Linked DNA regions of Homo sapiens: region 1 is linked to region 2. The links are contacts of gene promoters, found by promoter capture Hi-C in human tissues and cell types (Jung and others, 2019). All regions are on one chromosome and are shown on one strand. Each heading gives the region's core, a stretch centred on a gene start or on the middle of the fragment in contact. The rest is flanking DNA. Distances are from core to core; before and after follow the strand shown. Region 1 has its middle 24 kb from the start of TIMD4. Region 2 holds the start of HAVCR1 (hepatitis A virus cellular receptor 1).

Region 1 (6,326 bases), core at 3,747-6,246, 73 kb after region 2:
TGTGTTCTCATTGTTCAACTCCCACTTATGAGTGAGAACATGCGGTGTTTGGTTTTCTGTTCTTGTGTTAGTTTGCTGAGAATGATGGTTTCCAGCTTCATCCACGTTCTGCAAAGGACATGAACTCATCCTTTTTTATGACTGCATAGTATTCCATGGTGTATATGTACCACATTTTGTTGATCCAGTCTATCATTGATGGGCATTTGGGTTGGTTCCAAGTCTTTGCTATTGTGAATAGTGCTGCAATAAACATATGTGTGAATGTGTCTTTATAGTAGAATGATTTATAATCCTTTGGGTATATACCCAGTAATGGGATTGCTATGTCAAATGGTATTTCAGGTTCTAGATCCTTGAGGAATCGCCACACTGTCTTCTACAATGGTTGAACTAATTTACACTCCCACCAACAGTGTAAAAGCTTTCCTATTTCTCCACATTCTCTCCAGCATCCATTGTTTCCTAACTTTTTAATGATAGCCATTCTAACTGGCGTGAGACGGTATCTCATTATGGTTTTGACTTGCATTTCTCTAATGACCAATGATGATGAGCTTTTTTTCATATGTTTTTTGGCTGCATAAATGTCTTCTTTTGAGAAGTGTCTGTTCATATCCTTCACCCACTTCTTGATGGGGGTTGTTTGTGTTTTTCTTGTAAATTTGTTTAAGTTCCTTATAGATTTTGGATATTAGCCCTTTGTCAGATGGATAGATTGCAAAAATTTTCTCCCATTCTGTCAGTTGCCTGTTCACTCTGAAGGTAGTTTCTTTTGCTGTGCAGGAGCTCTTTAATTTAATTAGATCCTATTTGTCAATTTTGGCTTTTGTTGCCATTGCCTTTGGTGTTTTGTCATGAAGTCCTTGCCCATGCCTGTGTCCTGAATGGTATTGCCTAGGTTTTCTTCTAGGGTTTCTATGGTTTTAGGTCTTACGTTTAAGTGTTTAATTAATCTTGAGTTAATTTTTGTATAAAATGTAAGGAAGGGGTTCAGTTTCAGTTTTCTGCATATGGCTAGCCAGTTTTCCCAACACCATTTATTAAATATGGAATCCTTTCCCTATTGCTTGTTTTTGTCAGGTTTGTCAAAGATCAGATGGTTGTAGATGTGTGGCATTATTTCTGGGGCCTCTGTTCTGTTCCATTGGTCTACATACGTGTTTTGGTACCAGTACCATGCTGTTTTGGTTACTGTAGCCTTGTAGTATAGATTGAAGTCAGGTAGCGTGATGCCTCCAATTTTGTTCTTTTTGCTTAGGATCGTCTTGGCTATGCGGGCTCTTTTTTGATTCCATGTGAAATTTAAAGTAGTTTTTTTCTAATCCTGTGAAAAAAGTCAATGGTAGCTTGATGGGAATAGCATTCAATGTATAAATTACTTTGTGCATTATGGCCATTTTCACAATATTGATCCTTCCTATCCATAAGCATGGAATGTTCTTCCATTTGTTTGTGTCATCTCTTATTTCCTTGAGCAGTGGTTTGTAGTTCTCCTTAAAGAGGTCCTTTGGCCTGGCATGGGAGCTCACGCCTGTAATCCCAGCACTTTGGGAGGCTGAGGTGGGCAGATCACGAGGTCAGGAGTTCGAGACCAGCCTAGGCAATATGGTGAAACCCCATCTCTACTAAAAATACAAAAATTAGCTTGGCTTGGTGGCAGGCGCCTGTAATCCCAGCTACTCACAAGGCTGAGGCAGGAGAATCACTTGAACCCGGGAGGCAGAGGTTGCAGTGAGCCGAGATTGCACCACTGCACTCCAACCTGGGCAACAGAGTGAGGCTCCATCTCAAAAAAGAAAAGAAAAGAAAAGAAAAGAGGTCCTTCACATCCCTTGTAAGTTGTATTCCTAGGTATTTTATTCTCTTTGTAACAATTGTGAATGGGAGTTAACTCATGATTTGGCTCTCTGTTTGTCCATTATTGGTGTATAGGAATGCTTGTGATTTTTGCACATTGATTTTGTGTTCTTAGACTGCTGAAGTTGCTTTTCAGCTTAAGGAGATTTTGGGTTGAGACTATGGGGTTTTCTAAATATGCAATCATGTCATCTGCAAACAGAGACAATTTGACTTCCTCTCTTCCTATTTGAATACCCTCTATTTCTTTCTCTTGCCTGATTGCCCTGGCCAGAACTTCCAATGCTATGTTGAATAGGAGTGGTGAGAGAGGGCATCCTTGTCTCATGTTGGTTTTCAAGGGGAATGCTTCCCGCTTTTGCCCATGCAGTATATTGGCTTTTTTTTTTTTTTTTGTCATAAATAGCTCTTATTATTTTGAGATATGTTCCATCAATACCTAGTTAATTGAGAGTTTTTAGCATGAAGGGCTGTTGAATTTGTCAAAGGATTTTTCTGCATCTATTGAGATAATCATGTGGTTTTTCTCATTGGTTCTGTTTATGTGACGGATTACATTTATTGATTTGCATATGTTGAACCAGCCTTCCATACCAGGGATGAAGCTGACTTGATCGTGGTGGATAAGCCTTTTGATGTGCTGCTGGATTCAGTTTGCCAGTATTTTATTGAGGATTTTTGCATCAATGTTCATCAGGGATATTGGCCTGAAATTTTGTTGTTGTTGTTGTGTCTCTCCCAGGTTTTGTTATCAGGATGATGCTGGCCCCATAAAATAAGTTAGGGAGGAGTTCCTCTTTTTCTATTGTTTGGAATAGTTTCAGAAGGAATGGTACCAGCTCCTCTTTGTACCTCTGGTAGAATTTGTCTGTGAATCCATCTGGTCCTGGGCTTTTTTTGGTTGGTAGGCTATTAATTACTGCCTCAATTTCAGAACTTCTTATTGGTCTATTCAGGGATTCGACCTCTTCCTGGTTTAGTCTTGGGAGGGTGTATGTGTCCAGGAATTTATCCATTTCTACTAGATTTTCTAGTTTATTTGCATAGAGGTGTTTATAGTATTCTCTGATGGTAGTTTGTATTTCTGTGGGATCAGTGATGATATCCCCTTTATCATTTTTTATTGTGTCTATTCAATTCTTCTCTCTTTTCTTCTTTATTGGTCTGGCTAGCAGTCTATCTATTTTGTTAATCTTTTCAAAAAACCAGCTCCTGGATTCATTGTGTTTTTGAAGGGTTTTTTGTGTCTCTATCTCCCTCAGTTCTGTTCTGATCCTAGTTATTTCTTGTCTTCTGCTAGCTTTTGAATGTGTTTGCTCTTGCTTCTCTAGTTGTTTTAATTGTGATGTTAGGGGTCGAGTTTAGATCTTTCCCGCTTTCTCCTGTGGGCATTTAGTGCTATACATTTCCCTCTAAACACTGCCTTAGCTGTGTCCCAGATATGCTGATATGTTTTGTCTTTCCTCTCATTCATTTCAAATAACTTATTTATTTCTGCCTTAGTTTCATTTTCATTCAGGAGTCATCCAGGAGCAGGTTGTTCAGTCTCCATGTAGTTGTGTGGTTTTGAGTGAGTTTCTTAATCCTGAATTCTAATTTGATTGCACTGTGGTCTGAGAGACTGTTTGTTATGATTTTCATTCTTTTGCTTTTACTTCCAATTATGCAGTCAATTTTAGAATAAGTGCGATGTGGTGCTGAGAAGATTGTTGATTTGGGGGTGAAGAGTTCTGTAGATGTCTATTAGGTCTGCTTAGTCCAGAACTGAGTTCAAGTCCTAAATATCCTTGTAAATTTTCTGTCTCATTGATCTGTATAATATTGACAGTGGCATGTTAAAATCTCCCACTATTATTGTGTGGGAGTCTAAGTCTCTTTGTAGGCTTCTAAGAACTTGCTTTATGAATCTGGGTGCTCCTGTATTGGGTGCATATATATTTAGGATAGTTAGCTCTTCTTGTTGGCTTGATCCCTTTACCATTATGTAATGGCCTTTTTTGTCTCTTTTGATATTTGTTGGTTTAAAGTCTGTTTTTTCAGAGAGTAGGATTGCAACCCCTGCTTTTTTTTGCTTTCCATTGCTTGGTAGATCTTCCTCCATCCCTTTATTTTGAGCCTATGTGTGTCTCTGCATGTGAGATGGGTCTCCTGAATACAGCACACTGATGGGTCTTGATTCTTTGTCCAATTTGCCAGTCTGTGTCTTTTAACTGGGGCATTTAGCCCATTTACATTTGAGGTTAATATTGCTATGTGTGAATTTGATGCTGTCATTATGATGCTAGCTGGTTATTTTGCCCAATAGATGATGCAGTTTCTTCATGGTGTCGATGGTCTTTACAATTTGGTATGTTTTTGCAGTGGTTGTTCCTTTCCATGTTTAGTGCTTCCTTCAGGAGCTCTTGTAAGGCAGGCCTGGTGGTGACAAAATCTCTCAGCATTTACTTGTGTGTAAAGGATTTTATTTCTCCTTCACTTATAAAGCTTAGTTTGGCTGGATATGAAATTCTGGGTTGAACATTATTTTCTTTAAGAATATTGAATATTGGCCCACTCTTCTGGCTTGTAGGGTTCCTGCAAAGAGATCTGCTGTTAGTCTGATGGGCTTCCCTTTGTGCGTAACCCGACCTTTCTCTCTGGCTGCCCTTAACATTTTTTCCTTCATTTCAACCTTGGTGAATCTGACAATTATGTGTCTTGGGGTTGCTCTTCTCAAGGAGTATCTTTGTGGTGTTTTCTGTATTTCCTGAATTTGAATGTTGGCCTGCCTTGCTCTGTTGGGGAAGTTCTCCTGGATAATATCCTGAAGAGTGTTTTCCAACTTGGTTCCATTCTCCCCATCACTTTCAGGTATACCAATCAAATGTAGGTTTGGTCTTTTCACACAGTCCAATATTTCTTGGAGGCTTTGTTTGGTCCTTTTCATTCTTTTTTCTCTAATCTTGTCTTCATGCTTTACTTCATTAAGTTGATTTAAAATCTCTGATATCCTTTCTTCCACTTGATCAATTCTGCTATTGATATTTGTGTATGCTTCACAAAGCATACACAAGTTCTCGTGCTGTGTTTTTCAGCTCCATCAGGTTATTTATGTTCTTCTCTAAAATGATTATTCTAGTTAGCAATTTGTCTAACCTTTTCTCAGGTTCTTAGCTTCCTTGCATTGGGTTAGAACCTGCTCTTTTAGCTCAGAGGAGTTTGTTATTACCTATCTTCTGAAACCTCCTCTGTCAATTCATCAAATTCATTCACCGTCCAGTTTTGTTCCCTTGCTGGAGAGGAGTTGTGATCCTTTGGAGAAGAGCCATTCTGGTTTTGGGAATTTTCAGCCTTTTTGCTCTGGTTTTTCTTCATCTTCACGGATTTATCTACCTTTGCTCTTTAATGTTGGTGACCTTTGGTTGGGGTTTCTGTGTGGATGTCCTTTTTGTTGATGTTGATCCTATTCCTTTCTGTTTGTTTGTTTTCCTTTTGACAGTCAGGCCTCTCTGCTGCAGGTCTGCTGGAGTTTGCTGGAGGTCCACTCCAGACCCTGTTTGCCTGGGTATCACCAGCAGAGGCTGCAGAACAGCAAAGATTGCTGCTTGTTCCTTCCTCTGGAAGCTTCATCCCATAGGGGCACCCGCCAGATGCCAGCTGGAGGTCTCCTGTATGAGATTTCTCTTGACCCCTGCTGGAAGGTGTCTCCCAGTGAGGAGGCACGGGAGTCAGGGACCCACTTGAGGAGGCAGTGTGTCTCTTAGGAGAGCTCAAGTGTTGTTCTGGGAGATCCCCTGCTCTCTTCAGAGCCGGCAGGTAGGAATGTTTAAGTCTGCTGAAGCTGCGCCCACAGCTGCCCCTTCCCCCAGGTGCTCTGTCCCAGGGAGATGGGAGTTTTATCTATAAGCCCTGACTGGGGCTGCTGCCTTTCTTTCAGAGATGCCCTACCCAGAGAGGAGGAATCCAGAGAGGCAGTCTGGCTACAGTGGTTTTGCAGTGCTGTGGTGGGTTCCATCCAGTTCAAACTTCCCTGCAGCTTTGTTTACACTGTGAGGTGAAAACCACCTACTCAAGCCTCAGTAATGGTGGACTCCCCTCCTGCCACCAAGCTGGAGTGGAGCATCCCAGATCAACTTCAGACTGCTGTGCTGGCAGCAAGAATTTCAAGCCAGTGGATCTCAGCTTGCTGGGCTCCATGGGGGTGGGATCCGCTGAGTTAGACCACTTGGCTCCCTGGCTTCAGCCCCCTTCCCAGGGGGTTGTGAACAGTTCTATCTCACTGGTGTTCCAGGTGCCACTAGGGTATGAAAAAAAACTCCTGTAGCTAGCTTGGTGTTCGTCCAAATGGCCGCCCAGTTTTGTGCTTTAAATAAAGGTCCTGATGGCATAGGCACCCAAGGGAATCTCCTAGTCTGCTGGTTGTGAAGACCATGGGAAAAGCTTAGTATCTGGACCGGAATGCACCGTTCCTCATGGCACAGTCCCTC
Region 2 (6,704 bases), core at 2,577-5,076:
TGCCATATTGGCCAGGCTGGTCTTGAACTCCTAACCTCAAGTGATCCTCCTGCCTTGGCCTCCCAAAGTGCTGGGATTACAGGTGTGAGCCACCATACTTGGGCTTTTATGTATTTTCTATGGTAAACATAGGTGGTACCCTGTAATTTTTATATCTTTGTAAAAGATATAAAAAAAAGAAGCATTATATTACTTGTTATGAAATCAGAGGAGTAAGTGAAGGAAAATAACTAGCTTAGGGCAGTGGGCAGGGCAGGAAGAGAACTGAAAGGTAGGAAGACAGTTTTGGAGGGAATTGCAGAAGTCTGGATTATAGAGGCCTAATATAAAGTGATGGGGATGAGGGAGAGACTGACAGGTACAATGATGTGGAGTTGGTGAGTCCCTAGTTGTGGAGGGGGCCTAAGAAGATCTTGCTGTGGTGAAAGCATGGGGAATATGAACAGCTGAACTGTTTTGCAGGAGGCTGGAGCTGGAGGTACGATGTGCGCTGAGATAGCAGGGAAGTAAGTGGTGATTGCAAGAAAGAACAGTGAATTATTTTCTTTTCTGAATTCTTTCTTTTTTTTGAGACAGGGTGTCAATCTGTTGTCCAGGCTGGAGTGCAGTGGCACGATCTCAGCTCACTGCAACCTCCACCTCCCGGGTTCGAGCAATTCTCCTGCCTCAGCCTCCCAAGTAGCTGGGATTACAGGCACCCACCACCGTGCCCGGCCCATGTTCTGAATCATTTCAATTCACTGCCGTTAATCTTGGTTTATACAGATGCAGCTCCCTAGTGAGCAGCTGGAAATTCAGCTTTGGTGCCCAAGTATTGTCACTTCCAGCTTTACCCTACAACTGGGATGCATCCTTCAGGGGGGTCATGAAGTTTGCCCTAAAGAGTAGTGATCCCTGGAGGTTGTATAGCTCATTAAAAAAATCCACTGTGCTATATTGTTTGGGAGTCTTTAGAACACAGGCGTCTCTCATGGGAGATGGTCCTGTGTCAGAAAATTCAACCCTATGGAATTGTACAGTTATGTAACATCTCAGAGCCTTGGCTCCACATCCCTGTCCTGGCTCTCTCTGGCTCATCATTTCCTCCAGTTGAAACACCCTCCACCCATTCTTCTCACATGTCACTTTTTAAGAAATTCTTCCCACCCCCCACATTCCGTCATCAAAATGAATGGTCTTTCCCTATGGGTTTGTGTTTCCATTTGTTTATCTATTCAATTAATAACTTTTTTTTTTTTGAGAAGTCTCACTCTGTGGCCCAGGCCAGAGTGCAGTGGCATGATCTCCGCTCAGGGTAAATTCTGCCTCCCGGGTTCAGGCGATTCTCTTGCCTCAGCCTCCTGAGTAGCTGGGATTACAGGCACCCGCCACCACGCCTGGCTAATTTTTGCATTTTTGGTAGAGTTGGGTTTCACCATGTTGGCCAGGCTGGTTTGGAACCCCTGACCTCAAGTGATCCTCCCACCTCGGCCTCCTTTGGATTACAGGTGTGAGCAACCATGCCTGGCTTCAACACTTAAATTGCCTTAAAGGAGTTTATGGTCTGGAGTTGGGTGCCACACAACACAGTCACTATGTGTGACAATTTAAATTTTATTTTTTTGTTTTTAATTAATTTATTTTTTTGAAAGCTCTGTCATCTAAGGCTTGAGTGCAGTGGTGCCATCTCAACTCCCCGAAGACTGTCTCCTGGGCTCAAGCAATCTGAAATTTTAATTAAAATGAAATTAAATAAAAATTTTTAGGCCAGGCATGGCGGCTCACACCTGTAATTCCAGCACTTTTGGAAGTTGAGATGAGCGTATCACTTGAGGCCAGGAGTTCCAGCCCAGCCTGGCCAACATGGTGAAACTCCACCTCTGCTAAAAATACAAAAATTAGCCAGGCATGGTGGCGCGTGTCTGTAGTCCCAGCTACTCAGGAGACTGTGGCAAGAGAATCACTTAAACCCAGGAGATGGAGGTTGCACTGAGCTGAGATTGTGACACTGCACTCCAGCCTGGGTGACAGAGTCAGGCTCTGTCTTGGAAAAAAAAAAAATTAAAAATGCCTTGGTTGCCTTAGCCACATTTCAAGTGCTCAATAGTCATATGTGGCTAGTGGCTGCTGTAGTGCACGACACTCACACAGAATAACTCTGTAACCAATATTCTACTGGAGACAGAATCGATCCTATGGAATTCAAATTCAAATCCTATGGAATTGTACAGTTATGTAACATCTCAGAGCACTGGCTCCACATCCCTGTCTTGGCTCTCTGTGGCTCATCAGTTCCAGAATAACTCCGTTACCAGAATAACTCCATTACTAAAATTCTACCGGGCAGCACTCTATAGGAGGGAATAGAGACAGACACCACATATATTGCACACACAGATAAAATGGATTAAGGAAAACAAGATAATAATAGTGAGAGGGACTGGTTGGCTACTTTAGATTGAAGGACCTGTGAAAAATGTCCAGGGAGGTCATATTTAAGCCGGGATAAAAATGAAAAGGAAAAAAGTGAAAATGGTGGGGCTGGGGAGCTAGATGGAGAACACAGCCACGGAAAAGGCCTTAGGGTTGAGGCAAGTTGGAAAGAAAGCTCTAGTAGCTGGGGCTGAGTCAGCAGGGGAGAGAGTGGTAGAAGAAATCTATGGGGTAGGTCAGGGCCAGACCACCAGGGCTTCAGTAATTTGAGTAAAGATTTAGGAATTATTATTATTATTATTATTATTATTTTTCTGAGAGAGTTATGAGAGGGTTATAAGTGGGGGAATGATGTAGTCTGATTATATATTTACCTTTACCTCACTTATCCTGATTTCATTAGTTGCTTACTTACCCATGTCCCTGCCCGATTGCACAAGTCTGGATTTTTGACGTCCCTAGTATATTGAGTCATGTCCCATCAGCTCAATATGTTAGTAATAACTGGTTGAATTGAATTAGCTTTTTTTTTTCAATCTTTTTTTCCTTAAGAAACAGGGTCTTGCTCTGTCACCCCGGCTGGTGTGCAGTGGCACAATCATAGCCTCCAACTGCTGGGCTCAAGCAACCCTCCTGCCTCAGCCTCCTGAGTAGCTGGGACTACGGTCAGGTACACAAGGCCTGACTATATTTTTTGTTCGTTTTTTTTGCAGAGAGGGAGTCTTGCTATGTTGCCCAGGTTGGTCTCAAACTCCTTACCTCAGGTGATCCACTTGCCTTGGCCTCCCAAAGTGTTGGGATTACAGGCGTGAGCCACTGTGCCTGGCAAGAAATGAATTTTTATTTTTATTTTTGAGATGGAGTTTTGTTCTTGTTGTCCAGGCTAGAGTGCAATGGCTTGATCTCGGCTCACTGCAACCTCCACCTTCCAGGTTCAAGCAATTCTTCTACCTCAGCCTCCTAAGTAGCTGGGATTACAGGCGCCCGCCACCACCCCCAGCTAATTTTTGTATTTTTAGTAGAGTCGGGGTTTCACCGTGTTAGCCAGGCTGGTCTTGAACTCCCGACCTCAGGTGACTGGCCTACTCGGCCTCCCAAAGTGCTGGGGTTACAGGCACGAGCCACCATGCCCGGTCAAGAAATGAATTTTTAAACGCTGCCATACAAAACACTATGCTGAGATCATCCACTTCCCCATGAACCCTGTCATGAGCTGCAAGATACAGACCACCACTGCCTCCTTGGAAGTTACTGAATTCTTAGACCAGAAGAGGAGTTAATGAAGTACTAGGCAAGCTTACTCATGTTTGTATGGTTTAATGATTAACAGCAGAAGTCAACAGCCCGATTTAACGCATGTGGGTGCTTGACACAGAGCCTGCTATATAGTATTCTCCAAAAACCTCAGCTAGTGCTATTACTGCATATGATGTAGGTTTAGTTTTCCAAGTTCTTCCGTGGCCCTTTTTGCTTATTATATCAATCCTTGGTGGGAGATAGAGGAAGCATTTTTAGTGCTATTTTACAACTGAGGAAATAGAGGTTTGAAGAGAACTCAGGAACTCTCAGGGTTACCCAGCATTGTGAGTGACAGAGCCTGGATCTGAACGTAAGTCTGCTCCAGACTTCTGTTTCCTGAAGCATTCTCTTGAAGTCCCTTGGTAAGGAGGTGTAGTCTGAAGCATGTTGTACAGGAGCATGAAAGGTTAGGCACAGTGATTCACATTCACTCTCAATTTCTCTTGCTAATGGCAAACTTGGCAATATGACTGTTAAGGCTAGGGATAAGTCGTTGTGGCCACTGAGTAGGAAAAGCTCCACGTCCACCAGAGGCCCAGTTTACTCTGAAAAGCAAGTGCATCTCTGCCACTGGAAGGCTGGCATTTGCTCTCGTGCTGCCATTGAGCCACGCTGGTTCTCTGCTTCCAGTTTCCTTTTCTTTTCTTTTTTTTTGTTTTGTTTTTTGAGACGGAGTCTTGCTCTGTCGCCCAGGCTGGAGTGCAGTGGCGCGATCTCGGCTCACCGCAAGCTCCGCCTCCCGCGGGTTCACGCCATTCTCCTGCCTCAGCCTCCCGAGTAGCTGGGACTACAGGCGCCAGTGACCACGCCCGGCTAATTTTTTGTATTTTTAGTAGAGACGGGGTTTCACCCTTTTAGCCAGGATGGTCTCGATCTCCTGACTTCGTGATCTGCCCGCCTTGGCCTCCCAAAGTGCTAGGATTACAGGTTTGAGCCACCGCGCCCGGCCCTGTTTCCTTTTTGTTTGTTCCCCTGATACCCTGTATCAGGACCAGGAGTCAGTTTGGCGGTTATGTGTGGGGAAGAAGCTGGGAAGTCAGGGGCTGTTTCTGTGGACAGCTTTCCCTGTCCTTTGGAAGGCACAGAGCTCTCAGCTGCAGGGAACTAACAGAGCTCTGAAGCCGTTATATGTGGTCTTCTCTCATTTCCAGCAGAGCAGGCTCATATGAATCAACCAACTGGGTGAAAAGATAAGTTGCAATCTGAGATTTAAGACTTGATCAGATACCATCTGGTGGAGGGTACCAACCAGCCTGTCTGCTCATTTTCCTTCAGGCTGATCCCATAATGCATCCTCAAGTGGTCATCTTAAGCCTCATCCTACATCTGGCAGGTAAGTGAGTAGGTGCCCTGGGCGGGAAGAAGGGAGTAGAGGGGGGTTAGAAGCCAGAGAATGGGGTAGGGGAAGGGGAGGGGATGGTGGTGGTGGATTAATGTAGATGTTCTTTGGGTACCGTTGTATGGCTATGAGTTAACTAGTGAGCAGGACCAGAATAAAGTTTTAGGCCAAAGAAATTGCTTAACTGCTGTGAATTACAACATTCATGGCTAAATGAACAAGGCAAGATGCAGCACAGTGTGTCACAGGCTGCCCTTTGTGTTTAAACAAAAAGGGTGTGGTTAGATGTATATGCATAGACACATGTATATAGGAAATAGTGACAGTGGGTAATGTGGGATGGGGGCAGAGGGTGGGAGGTGGAGGGAGAGTTAATCCTTATTGTATTTTTTTGTGCCTTCCGATTTTTTTCAGCCACATTCAATTCTCTTTCTTTCTTTCTTTCTTTCTTTCTTTCTTTCTTTCTTTCTTTCTTTCTTTCTTTCTTTCTTTCTTTCTTTCTTTCCTCTCTCTCTCTCTCTCTCTCTCTTCATGAGGTCTCACTCTGGAGTGCAGTAGGGCAATCTTTTTTTTTTTGAGACAGAGTCTCACTCTGTCGCCCAGGCTAGAGTTCAGTGGCGTGATCTCGGCTCACTGCAGCCTCCGCCTCCTGGGTTCAAGCAATTCTCTGCCTCAGTCTCCCAAGTAGCTGGGATTACAGGTACCTGCCACCACTACCAGCTAATTTTTTTGTATTTTTAGTAGAGACAAGGTTTCCCCATCTTGGCCAAGCTGATCTTGAACTCCTGACCTTGTGATCCACCTGCCTCGGCCTCCCAAAGTGCTGGAATTATAGGCGTGAGTCACCGCGCCTGGCCTAGTTGGGCAATCTTGATTCACTGCAACCTCGACCTCCTGGGCTCAAGTGATTCTCCCACCTCAGTCTCCCAAAGTGCTGGGATTATAGGCGTTAGCCACCACATCTGGCCTAAGTATTTTATTTTGAAATAAACACTTTAATTCAAAACATTCTATGAGATAAGGAAAGAGTAAAATAGACATATCCTAATTTTTAAACACAAATTTCTGGAGTGATATATGCCTTTGGGATTATGGGGGAAAAATAATCTCTCATTATATACTTCTATAACCAAATTGTAATAGCATGCATTATATGTGTAATCCAAAAAAATGATACTAGTATTAGGCAAAATTAAACAAGAATTTCTTGGTGGCCGGGCGTGGTGGCTCACACCTGTAATCCCAGCACTTTGGGAGGCCAAGGCGGGCAGATCACGAGGTCAGGAAATCGAGACCATCCTGGCTAACATGGTGAAACCCCGTCTCTACTAAAAATACAAAAAAATTAGCCGGGCGTGGCGGCGTGTGCCTGTAGTCTCAGCTGCTGGGGAGGCTGAGGCGGGAGAATGGCGTGAACCTGGGAGGCGGAGCTTGCAGTGAGCCGAGATCACACCACTGCACTCCAGCCTGGGCGACAGAGCAAGACTCTGTCTCAAAAAAAAAAAAGAAGAAATTCTTTTTAGAAAGACTTTGTCTAAAAAAAAAAATTAAAAGAATGCTAGCATAGAAAAATGCTTATAATCTCAAATTTTAAAAATTCCAGCTATATCAGCTAACTTGGAAAAAGGGGAAAAACCTTCCAGCTATAATGTCT

The links. The method cuts DNA at HindIII sites, captures the fragments that hold promoters and counts their contacts. A contact is called where the count stands out against the background at its distance.
Region 1: a contact is called between a fragment that was not itself captured here and the fragment with the promoter of HAVCR1 in region 2, in 3 of the 25 tissues and cell types used here (adrenal gland, aorta and stomach).

The regions. Positions count from the first base shown.
Region 1 is chr5:156,984,370-156,990,695 of GRCh38, reverse strand. No RefSeq gene overlaps it. Among named protein-coding and RNA genes, the nearest start is that of TIMD4, 24 kb to the right of the region's middle. The HindIII fragment of the contact is 5,224 bases long and covers 2,385-6,326 here.
Region 2 is chr5:157,056,238-157,062,941 of GRCh38, reverse strand. HAVCR1 (hepatitis A virus cellular receptor 1) reads left to right here and starts at 3,826. Exons shown (of 9, transcript NM_001173393.3): 1 at 3,826-4,021; 2 at 4,987-5,044. The coding sequence starts at 4,999. The HindIII fragment of the contact is 13,602 bases long and covers 1-6,704 here.